Regions from separate parts of the Homo sapiens genome. Here region 2 is linked to region 1. Evidence: promoter capture Hi-C in 16 types of primary human blood cells and fetal thymus (Javierre and others, 2016). All regions are on one chromosome and are shown on one strand. The core of a region is centred on a gene start or on the middle of the fragment in contact, and the rest is flanking DNA. Distances in the headings are between cores, read along the strand shown. Region 1 holds the start of SLCO5A1 (solute carrier organic anion transporter family member 5A1). Region 2 overlaps MSC-AS1 (MSC antisense RNA 1).

What was found. Contacts are between HindIII fragments. The CHiCAGO score rates a contact against its expected background, and 5 or more counts as called.
Region 2: a fragment that was not itself captured here is called in contact with the fragment with the promoter of SLCO5A1 in region 1 in 1 of 17 cell types (total CD4 T cells); the score reaches 6.6 in total CD4 T cells.

The regions. Positions count from the first base shown.
Region 1 is chr8:69,832,325-69,838,434 of GRCh38, forward strand. SLCO5A1 (solute carrier organic anion transporter family member 5A1) reads right to left here and starts at 2,654. Exons shown (of 10, transcript NM_030958.3): 1 at 2,530-2,654; 2 at 1-845. The coding sequence starts at 349. It overlaps SLCO5A1-AS1 (SLCO5A1 antisense RNA 1), which reads left to right and starts at 1,788. Exons shown (of 4, transcript NR_186568.1): 1 at 1,788-1,869. RefSeq lists silencers at 630-719, 2,810-2,919 and enhancers at 910-979, 2,410-2,489. The HindIII fragment of the contact is 8,160 bases long and covers 1-3,202 here.
Region 2 is chr8:71,852,698-71,859,128 of GRCh38, forward strand. The region is part of intron 2 of MSC-AS1 (MSC antisense RNA 1); the gene reads left to right. Among named protein-coding and RNA genes, the nearest start is that of MSC, 12 kb to the left of the region's middle. The HindIII fragment of the contact is 2,950 bases long and covers 2,187-5,136 here.

The sequences.
Region 1 (6,110 bases), core at 1,404-3,903:
TCTCCTGGAGCATGGCCAAGGCGGAGGACACCGAGAAGGTTTTGCTGAGGTCCACCCTGTGGTTACAGTCCCCGAGCCCCGCCGAAGTGGACGGGGCAGAGGGACTGGGGGCCAACGGGTTCGGGCCTTGCTTCAACTCCTGGTGGCCCGAAGAATCCACACAGCCAAAGGCCGGGTTGGCGTCTCCACTAGTGGGACTGAGGCTTGGCCGGCAGGAGGCGCTGCTGAGGACCGGTAAACTCTTAGACCTGAGGGTCTCCGGCTCGCACCTCTCTTGGACAGCTTCTGCAGTGGCCGGCGCCTCCAGCTGCTCTCCCGCCCCGGGCTGCAGTCCAGTGCCTTCGTCCATGGCGCTTAGAATTCAGATTTGATAGCTGATGGCACCCAAGCACTCCGGCACGTTTCATCCACCGGCACGAGGGGCCGAAGCCGGGCCCAGTCAGTCTTGCCCACCTGGGACTGGGGCTGGGGGCGCAGGGCCGCGCAGCAGGGCATCCTCACCAGCTGCGAGGCGCCCAGTGCATCCTGATCACAGACACGGCTTCAAGGCTCCGCAGCCGCGTGCCACAGGGGGCAGGGGTCCGCGCGGTACTGCGATGAGCCCTACTCGGCGTCCCTCTCCGGGCGGTAGCTTGAGGCAGGCGCCTCGCGCGTCCCGGGCTCATCCCCTCCGCCGCCGCCGCCGCCGCCGCCGCTGGGCCCGCGGCCAGGAGCGAGTGCACCCTGCGCCGGGGGTGGGGGGGCACTTAGCGCTGCTGTCCGTACAGCATCCCACCTCGCTGCGCCAGGGGTACCGGGTGTTCGCCGCCTGGGCTCGCGGCACCCTCGGGAGTGAAGCTGCCGACCTGCAAAGCAGAAAGAGGGCGGTCAGCGAAGAGCGGCTGCGGCTTGGGGCTAGCGTCCCAGCGCCCCGGGGACCAGGGTTAGGTGACCCCGAACCGTCCCTAGAGGGACGGAGGAGCTAGTCAGGAGCGGAGCCCCGGAGGACTAGGCAGCAGCCGGCTGCAGTCTCCAGTCCCGGAACAATAAGCAGCAGGCGGTCGGCGGAGACTCTCCCTCATTGTCTGCCGCGGACCTGCCCCCGTCCCGCCCCTTCTGCCTTAAACATTGCGTTTGCTTTTATATGTTAATAATTATCAACCTGGCAGCTCTGACTCAGAGGCAGTGTCTTTTAATCGAGTGAACTAACTGCAGCCTTTCCGTACTCCTACTCCATTACTCAAAATAGAAAATGCCCAAAAGAACAAAGGAAACTTTTTCACAGACACACAATGTATTCCCTGTCCCAATTTTTCTAAAAGGAAAAAAGAAGGTGGGGGTAAACTACGTGTGTAGAAATGTGTGTGCACACTGGTGTGCGTTGGCACGTGTGCGCGACTAGATTTGAATCTGTCTGCTCCACCAGAGACACACATTCAAAGCCGAAGGCAGCAGCAAAAAGGTCAACATGCTTGCCTCTTTATTCCCAACACCAAAAATAACCCCCTGACCGAAAGAACTCTTCAATTACAAATACCAGGGGCATTCGAGGCTGTGGCCCGCACTAAGTCCCAGAGCGCGGTATCAAACGAAACCGAAAATCCGTCTGCTTTGCCGAGAGCTAGGGAAGCCACAACCAAACAAAGAGATCCCGGCACGCTGTCAGAGAGCGCGCGAGGAGCCCACGGAGCCGGCTGGGCGCACGCGGGCCGGCGGGGAGGTGTGCTATTGACTGAGCGCACCCCGCTAGCGTGGGCCTGGGGAGCGTGTGCGCGTGCGCGGCCACACACACACACACACACACACACACACACACACACACACACCGGCGTACTGGAACCTCTCTCGCGATCCCGCACCCAGCTTGAATTCAGCAAGAATCGAAAACAGGTGTGCCCCCGTGGTAAGACCCCGCCCCTAATCTTGGGGACCCCCACTCCACTCCTCCAGCCTGGGGCAAGGACGGGGGGCGGAATATGCACCAGGTGGGAGACAGCCGAGCTTCACTACACTGGGTTTCATTTTGCAGCGCGCCTTTGTGATGCTGCTGAGAAAAGAAAGGAGGAAGGGCAAGGGAGAAAGGCAGAGAGGCTGGGCGGCCAAGGGTGGCCGCTCCGGCATCTCCCTCGGCTGTGCTGGGCCAAACCCGCTCCCAGATTCCCGGCCTGCCAGCCACTCACAATCCCGGGCTTCCCCGCCGCTGCCTTACCCAGGCGCCTTCCCGGGGAACCCCACCAGCCGCTGCGTGAGGAGCCGGGGAATCCCAGCAAACTCTCGCCGCTCGCGGGGGGCGTCCGAACCCCCTGCTTAGGCGAGCGCCCTCACAGCATCGCAGACTCGGATGGACACGCGGATCCCGGCAGGGAGCTCTTGGAGCAGGCGTGGAATCCCAGGGACACCCCCTGCGCGCACATCACATACACGCACATCCTACACACACACACACACACACACACACACACACACACACACACACAGAGCCCGTGGGAAGACAAGACCGCCGGCGACAGCCCGCCGCGCTGCCCGGGCGCTCAAGCCGCCGCTACTCACTAGCGAGTCTGTCAGTCTGTCTGCCTGGCTGAGTAGAGCGGCGGGAGGGGGGCACTGAGCTACGGGAATAGTTGGGAGCCGCGTGAGGAGGCAGCCTCCGTCCAGCCGAAGAGAAATCAGTGAATGAGACTGTGACTCAGGCTGAACTCTTCCCCCCACCCCTCGCCTGTCACCCAAGCCTCTCCTCCGCTCCAAACAGACACACGCGCACAGAGACGCGCCCGGAGAGGAGCAGCCGAGGGCGCAGGCGCGAGGGCAGCCACCCAGCCCAGCCCTCCCACAGCCAGCCACCCCGCTGCCCTTCACCTGCGTGGCTGCGGGGGCCCAAGAGCGCTGAAGCCCCGAGGGAGCCGGTCTCTAGAAAAGTCAGCGGCTGAAGCTGACAGCCCACTCTGAATAAATAAATCATTTCTGATCGTTTATTCCGTGCCTTGGGCACACACCATGTCTCATTCACCATAGTAGATTCTGGGACCAAAGATAAACAAGACAAGATACTTGGTCGGAGGAAACCTCTGGCTTGTGGGGGAAATACTCATGTAAATGGCTTAAAACAACGTGGTACATCTATGCAGCCTGCTACTGGAGTAGCCAATATCCATTAGCCTTCATTTCCACGCAGCAGGAAGAACAGAGGCACGGGGGCATGGTGCTGCCAGTCAATAGGTAGATAAGCTTCCTAGAAGATTGCAGGGATGGGGCAGAGGACCAGACTGCAAGAGTGGCTGAGTAGAAAGGGGCACTACGGGTTTCCTAAGTTGTGTACTGTCAATAATGTGGGGGCAATGACGTTCTGACTTCCTCACCAGAGAGCTGGCTCTGGCAGTGACAGGTAGACAGATGTGAGGCCACACTGCGGGCACAGAAGTGAGTTGGGAGGCAGTCTGAAAGCAAAATGTGATGAGGCATTGGCAGGGGGCATGGAGAGGAGGGAACTGGGCAGCTGATGCAATCTGCAAGAGAAGAAAACCAGCCGAGGTAGGATGACTCCCAAGTTTCTAGCACCAAGTTGGGTGACTACGTGCCTGACAGCCAATAAAAGCACAGGTGGAGAAACATGCTTTAGGAGAAAGATTGTTCTCATCTACATGTGTTGAGTTTGAAATGTTTGGGGGACATCCCAGTGTACGTGTCCCATAAGCCACTGGACACACAGGAGGTTTGGACTAGGAATATTGATCAGTAGTCATCAGCCCAAAGGTGGCATGAGAAAGGATGGAATGAATAGGGAAGATCATCCAAATTGTGAAGAATCTAGGAGGACAGCGTACAGCCAAAGGAAGGAGACTGGAAGCAAGGGTCAGAGAGGTGTGGGACGCATCAGAAAAGCCAAAAGAGCAGACGACTGTAAGAAGGGAAGGGTCAGATGTGTACAGGCTGCAGGGAAGACAAACAGGATGATAACTGAAAAAAAAAAAAAAAAAGAGTATCTGAGGGCACTTGTGACCATTGACAGAGCAGGATAGTGCTCTAATGGAGGAAAGGAGGTTGCTCACAAGTACCAGTGACCATGCTGGCCATTGCTGCCAGGTCGAAGCCCCTCCACTGGCCCTTGGCCTTGCCCAATGAAAGCATTGTCTCCATTTTACAGATGTGATAAGTGTAGAGAGGTTAAGTAACTTTATATAGGCACACAGCTGCTCTGTAGACAATATGAACCAATGTGCTCCAAAAGACTATGTTCTTACTTAACCTCTTAACCCTGACTCTCTACCCTCTCTCCTGCCATTGAATAACATCCTGACTCGTCAATGCACCTTGATTCTTTTGATTATCTCCCTTTAGTCCAACAACCGTCGTATCTACAGCGATCCTTAGAGAACAATTAAGGCCAGTTGACAGTAAAGAACAATCAGTGTGTATTTGAAGTCCATGCTGAGAGAGCATCAATCTTCTGGCAGCTGCAAGACTGACCTATCAACCGAGGCATTTCTTCATTCCCTGCCATTGTCTCCTCCTCTTGAGATCGCCATCAGGCACAGTCACTTTTCTACAAACAGGCAATAGGACTCCCGCTGCCACCCTGCCCAGATTTTAGTCCTCTACTGCTGATAAAGTGAGCAAAGATACGTGGCACTTCCTGAACCCAAATACTCTTCTGAGCTGATTCTAAATCCACACAGAATCAACCTACCTCCTATTACCTCCTTCCAAGCTCTGTGTCCCATTCTCTCATTTCAGTCTCAGCTCCAGACATCAGTGAATTCAATGTGATACATCAGGGGACATCACAGGACTTCCCTACTTGAAAATCAAGCAATCGTGTCCCTGAAACACTCTGTCTTTATTCATGCTCAGTTACCGTAAAGTAGATGCAACTCTAAGAACCTATGGATTTTTTTATTGCCACTAATAGATCATGATTTACAGCAAAATTTTAAAAGGTCCAATTTTACTCACATAAGAAGAAGAAAACATTCAGCAAGAAGCATTTCTTTTGCTTTATCTTTCCCAGTTAAATATGACTTTAAAAAAGACAAAATTTTAAAAGGTCCAATTTTACTCACAAAAGAAGAAGAAAACATTCAGCAAGAAGCATTTCTTTTGCTTTATCTTTCCCAGTTAAATATGACTTTAAAAAAGACAAAATTTTAAAAGGTCCAATTTTACTCACATAGGAAACAAGAAGAAAACATTCAGCAAGAAGCATTTCTTTTGCTTTATCTTTCCCAGTTAAATATGACTTTGAAAAAGAAGAGCACACCTCATTAGCCGTAATTGTCTGATTAATACAAAGAAATGGACTCATATCACGGGGTTCTACTACCCCTATGGTAGTGTTTACTATCCTTATTTCACTCAATAATTACAGTTACTTTAACCAGAATGCCTGCCTTGTTTGGCATTTTGGGAGAGGAAGCATATGACTGTAAACCCTCTTCAAACTTTCAGACTTACGTTTGCTTCTTCTAAGTCCATCGACTTTATACATAAATGACTTCTTTTTAAAAATAAATAAATAAATAAATAAATAAATGATTTCTTTCCTGATCTTCATATAACAAGTATGTAGCCTTTGCAATTTCCAGGGCAGTCTACAGGTTTAAAATCTGGCCGTCCTGGAGAATGGGCAGAAGAAAGCTGAAGGGAGCCTTTTCCCACAGCCCTTCCCTTCCTTCTTAAAGAAGGTTCACTTCAGAGGTCTCCCAGATACAACAAGAACTGAGTTTTTGGTTCAGAATATTTTGTGGGTGCAAAACATAATACATAGTTGCCAGTAACATAATTGAATTAGGTGTTGGTTGTTTAAGAGGAGACACATTGTATCTTTAAGGTAGCCCCTTAATAGAACTTGGCATGTATATCCTTCCTTAGAAGTGAATTTCAGGTTGGGTAAAACCTGAGAAGGAACAGATCTGGCCCTGGGGTACAATGAATGCAGGCAATCACTCCAGCCCTGGTGGCTTGAGGGCCCTGCAAGTGCTAAAGGAGTATAGTGACCAACTGTGTCCAAAGAGACTTAGCACTGCAAGTCCCACACCCCCAAGAAACCACAGTTCCATGAACACCTGGAGGCTTGGCTCCCTATAAAGAAACTGCCACCTCCCTTAATATAATTAAGCCAGATTAGCTGGGTACTG
Region 2 (6,431 bases), core at 2,412-4,911, 2.0 Mb after region 1:
AACTCTGTCACGGCACCGGCTGGGACAGTTGTAGGGCTTCCTTTGTTTGTTTCCCATCTCTCAGGGTTCATTGTCCTTCATTACCTCCTGTAGAATGTTTTAAGAACCATGGTTTGATACATTTTGTCTGTTTTAGGGAAGTTTCAGGTAGAAAGTTAAGTCTTATCCCTGTTACGCAATCTTAGCCCCAGGTGGAAGCCTTTGGAATGGCACCTTTATAGGAAACGTATTTTATTTTATTTTTGTTTTGTTTTTAAGAGTGATACCTGCTTGAGCATGCTTGTATTTTGAGAGGAAGATACTGGAGAAAAGAAAGAGATTAAAGATATTAAAAATATGGGGAGGGGATTAAAGATATTAACATATGGGAAAAATATATTAAAAATATGGAAATAGTGATGGAGCAAATCCCACAGGAAATGGAGGCTGATGAGTTAGCCTTGAAGAAGAGGATGTACATATCTTTTTGCCTGAAATACTGTAGGATGTCTCTGTAGATCAGTAGAGATTTGTAATGGGAAGTTAAAGAAGTTAGTCCCTGATGGTCTCTGTTTTCTCAGTGGAATATGAATTAAAGTTGTCTACATAGAATAGGTGGGTAGACATGAGTTACTAGAATCAACAGAAATGGGAAATGTGGGGAATAACCATTCTGGAGAATATAAAAAGAGTCTAAGTAGGGGTAAGGAAATGTATTTCAAAACAGTGTTAAGGGCTTTGATGACATTGACTGATGAGCACTTATACCCATTAACAAATGTGAAGTTATCTAGCACAGTGATTCACATGGAGTGGTTTTCAGCTAGAAATAGCTGAATCTTAACAAATTAACCTGTTTATATTTTCAATAGCAAGAACTTGCAAGAATGAACTATTTATGGGACCATTAAGTTTTGATGAGGTAGAGATGCAATTTAGGAACTTGGAGTTCAGGGGAAATACTCTTGGAGATTTAGATGAAGATTCTACAGTTGGGGACCCATGGTATGCAGGAGGGAGGCAAAATGAAGCCATACTTTTAACTCTTTGGGGTAGGTGGAGAGGGAAGGATTTGCAAAGTTGCAGTATCACTATATTGCAGAAATGTTGGGGGTGCCACTGACAGAATATAATATGGAGTGATCTATATATTTCTCAGATCTTTCAGTTGTGCGTTATCTATGTAAAATGGACTTAACGACAAAATACATGAATGCATGCATACACACAGACATACATGCAAACTATTTTTCAAAACTTAGGCTCTCTGGAGATATTAGCAGATTTCTTTCAACATATTCCATAGGCATTTGGAACACAGCAAATTTAGGGTATTTTAAATCAATAATAAACTTATGATTTCTTCATTTTTGCTATAGGGAACTCATTAACATGTAGTTTAACAGGGAGAAAAAGCAGAGTATGTCAGATTGCACCCCCATACCCTTATATTCTCATTTTAAACATTAATATCCCCCATATTTTACAGATAAAGATATTGGAGTTAAGAGAGATGAAGTTCCTTGCTGAAGAATACAAAGATAATTGAAGAGGAACTCAGATGTCTAGAATGAGAGTCTAGTGCTCTTGTTGCTATATCATGTCCATTATGGTTAATTTTATGTCTCACCTTGGCTAGGCCATTGTACCCAGATAGTTGCACAAACAGTATTCTAGATTTTTCTGTGGAGTTTTTTTTTTTTTTTGTATGAGATATAAATTTAAATCACTAGACTTGGAGTAAAGAAGATTGCCTGCCGTAATATGAGTGGGTCTCATCCAATCAGATGAAGGCCGTAATAGAAAATGACTCACCTTCTAGGAAGAAGAGGGCATTTTGCCAGCAGACTGCTTTCAGACTAGAACGCAGCTCTTCTCTGGTCTCCATCCTGCCAGGCTACCCTCCAGAGTTTAGACTTGCCATCTTCCACAATCGTGTGAGCCAATTCCTTAAAATAAGTCTCTCTCTGTCCTCTCCTCTCTGACACACACACACACACACACACACCCCTTATTCATTGTGTTTCTCTAGAGTATCCTTACTAATACAATGTTCTTGGACAATGCATGTGAAATACTAGAGAATTTAATAAGCAGGCTAAGCTACAATGCCAGGCACTCTGTGCTTAACTCCAGAGTATTTAAAGTGATAGTAAATCTTCTAGTTCTTGATATTTAGCATTCGTTTTAGAAGTCATAGAAAAATAAGCTTGACCAGGGAGGAAAATGTTACAAGTAACTTTTATACTTACTTGTGACACAAAACACATTAACTTTTTATATTTAATTCTAATGTTTATACTACTTGGTTGAAAAATACTAATTTTAATTATAGTATTTTTGCTTTGATAATCATTGAACCTTTCTTTTAATTGAAATATAATTCTCATACCACAAAGTTCATACTTTAAAGATGTGCAGTTAAGTGATTTCTAAGTATATTCAAAAAGGTTGTGCAACCATCACCACTCTGTAATTCCTAAACATTTGTATCATCCCCAAACAAAACCCCATAACCATTAGCAGTCATTTCCCGTTTCTCCCTCTTCCAGATCCCCTGGCAACCACTAGTTTATCTGTCTTTGTAGATTCATCTGTTCTGGACATACTACATATATAATAATATTCCATTGAAAAACTTTCTATATAATAAGCCACAGACTTTTAATGCCTTGTTTCTTTTACTAAGCATAATGTTTTTTAAGGTTCATTCATATTTTAGCTTGCTTTTGTATTTCAATTTTATGTGACTGAATTAATATTTCATTATATATAATTATATATAACATACATATAATGATATATATATATACACACACCAAATTGTAATTATTTATTTATCAATTTATGGGCACCTGGGATATGTCCAATCTTTGGCTATTATGAATAATGCTGCTATGAATATTCATGTACAAGTTTATTGTGAACATATGTTTTCAACTGTCTTGGGTATATACCTAATAGTGGAAATGCTGGGTCGTATAGTAACTCTATGGTTAACTATTTGATAATCTATCAGACTATTTTCCAAAGTGGCTATACCATTTTACATTCTCAGCAGCAATGTAGTCTCTCCACATCCTTACCAATACTTGTTATTGTTCTTTGTTTTGATTATAATCATCGTACTGGGTGTGAAAGTTATATCTTATAGTGGTTTTGATTTGCATTTCCCTAACAGCTAATGAAGTTCAGCATCTTTCAATGTACTTGTTGTATATTTATCTATCTTCTTTGCAGAAAAGTCTATTTAGATATTTTTCATTTTTAAATTAAATTTTTTGTCCTGTTGTTGTTGAGTTATAAATGTCATTTATTATTTGTTGAATGTTTCCTCCAAATTGTATATGTCACAAACTTAATCCACAATGTGGCAGTATTGAAAGGGCCTTTAAGAGGTAATTGGATCTTGAAAGCACAGCTTTCATGAATGGATTAATCTATTCATGGATTAATAGATGAATGGGATAATGGGTTAATGGGCATGGAACTGGTGGCTTTGTAAGAAGAGGAAGAGAGACCTGAGCAAGGTTCAGCCCCATCACTATGTGATTCCAGGCCTCAAGATTCTTCAGAGTTCCCATTAGCAAGAAGGCTCTCACCAGATGTGGCCCCTTGACTCTGGACATCTCAGCCTTCATAACTATAAGAAATAAATTCCTTTTCTTCACAAATTACCCAGTTTCAGGTATTCTGTAATGAGCAGCAGAAAATGCACTAAAATACTCCCTCAGTTTTTGTTAATATAAGGATGTCTTAATTTCTTACTTAATTTTGAAGGATAGTGTGCTGAAATAGGATTATTGGTTGAAAATTTTTTTCTCTCAGCACTTTGAATATATTGCCCCACTGCCTTCTGGCCTTTAAAGTTTCTGATGGGAAATATGCAGGTGGTTTTATTGAGGATCCTTTGTAAATGATGAGATCCTTCTGTCTTGCTGCTTTCAGGATTCTCTCGTCTTTCTCTCAAAAGTTGTATTATTATGTGTCTTGGTGTGGATCTCTTTTAGTTCATCTTACTTGGAGTTTGTTGAGTTTTTTAGATGTTTGTATTCATTTATTTCATCCCATATGGGAACTTTTCAGCCATTATTTCTATAAATATTCTCTCTTTCCCATTCTCCATTCTCCTTATAGAAATCCCAGAATACATGTATTCTGTTTGATGTTGTCCCCCAGATCCCTTAGGCTCTGCTCACTTTTCTTTAAGCATTCTTTTTTCTTTTTCTTTTTAAGAGACAGTTTCACTCCGCCTCCTAGGCTGGAGTGCTGTGGCATGATTATACCTTACAACAGCCTCAAACTCCTGGGATCAAGCAGTTCTCCCACTTCAGCCTCCCTAGTAGCTAGGACTACAGGCATGTGCCACCATGTTCAGCTAATTTTTAAAATTATCTATAGAGGTAGGGTCTCACTAAGCTGCTCAGGCTGATCTCAAACTCCTGATCTCAAGGGCTCTTCCTGTTTTGAAGTGCTGGGATTACAGACATGAGCCACTGTGCCCTGTTTAAACTTTTTTTCTTTTGTTCCTCAGATGAAGTTGATTTCCATTGTCCTATCTTCACTGATTTTTTTTTCTGCCTGCTCAAATCTGCCTTTGAATCCCTCTAGTGAATTTTTTTTTTTTACTTTAGTTATTATACCTTTTAGCTCCAGAATTTCTCTTTGTTTTCTTTTTAGGTTTTCTATCTCATTGTTGGTATTGCGATTTCCCCATAAGAAATGTATTACTTGTATTACTTAGGTTTTTTGTTTGCCATGTTTTCATTTTCTTCCATAAAGGTATTTTCTAATTTTCTTTGTGATTTCTTTACTGACCCATGGGTTTTTAAATGATTGTGTTGTTTAATTTCCATAAATTTGTGAATTCCCCAAATGTATTTCTCTTACTGGATAAGTATTTTGTATTATTTCAGTCCTTTTAAATTTACTGAGATTTGTTTTATGGCCTAGAATAGGGCCTATCCTAGGGAATGTTCTGTGTATACTTGAGAAAAATGTATATCCTACTGCTGTGGGGTAGAGTGTTCCTCCAATGCCTGAAAGGTCTGCTTAATTTATGGCTTCCACTGTGATTGTAAGCTGTCAGTTTTCAAGGCTACTATGGAGCTGGAAGAGAAGAAGGGAATGGGAGTAGGACAAGTTAAAACACAGCAAAGCTTACTGTTCTTACTGATATTCAGCTGTTTTTCTTCAAAAAAAAAATACCCAGATTGCTGCAGAACTTTGGCTAATTTCTAGCATTCTGAAAATGTTGATTCTGATAATTTTGTGAGTTTTCTCATTGCTTTCATGGGGAAGATTATTTTCGCAAGTCTGTCATTTTTGCGGACATCACCTTGTCTTCCACTGAATCTTGATGTATATTTTATATATCATGAGGTCCAATTAAAAGAGCAGTAAATTAAGTACCAGTTCTCTACGTGTAGGAAGGAGAATGTTAAGAAGTTTCACATATGTTAAGAAGCTCCATATTTAGTCTTTTCTGAAGTTTCCAATTTTCACTGGCACAAGAATGAGGCAGAGCAGAGGAACCACTGGGATTCAGCAAGATTAGCTTCACATTGCTTGTCTACCACATTCTCCTATGTAAACCACACTCCTGTGCATTTATATTCTTGTCTCTCCATCTTCCTCAATAGCTTGTTTCTGACTAGTCTTTCCATGACAGAGGCTGAGTCATTCCCTTGAGAGAATCTGGCCTAAGAACAGCTGTGTCTGAAAGGCTTTCCTTCTGTATGCAAAAGGAAAAGCTAATTAGAGGGAGGGGTGGGTTTAACTGTTTGTATCTAGGATGATGACAGGTTGATATCTTCTAATCCTTTTGTAAAACAGTTTTTAGATCAATAAAAATAAATAGAATGTATTTAGTTTCTTTATTCTTATCCTTTTAGTACTTTCACATAAAAAACACAAGCCTCCCACTACGACCAAGTAGAAGTAGTCAATTAGCATATATTCTGTCAATGAATTCTGTGATGAACCCAGTTAATTTAACTCTTTAAGCAAGGACATAGTGAGTACCTAGTATGGACTAGGCATATGATTAAATTTCTGCTGCCATTCTCCCAGAATTTCAGAACTCTCCCATTCCTCCTATATCCTGCTTGTGAACCGACTATAGAATTAGCTTTATTTTTACTGTCCCTTACTTCATTCATAAACACAGGACAAAGTGATCCAGATGTCATACAAAAATCAATATTGTTTCTCTCTCCCCTTCTTTCAAACTCTCACTCTCTTTTTCTCTCTTTCACACACAGTGAAATGAAAAAACTACCTAAAAATAAGAAATGTTAGGTGAAGATAGTTTTTTTTTAGCTCACACCACTTCCTAGTCTTAGATAGGGCAACTAGAGAATGGCCATCTGTTATTTCTTTCTCTTCTTCATTGGCCTTGCTCACCATACAGAGACATGTTCCAACACTACTTTGAGATATTAAGATTGTGG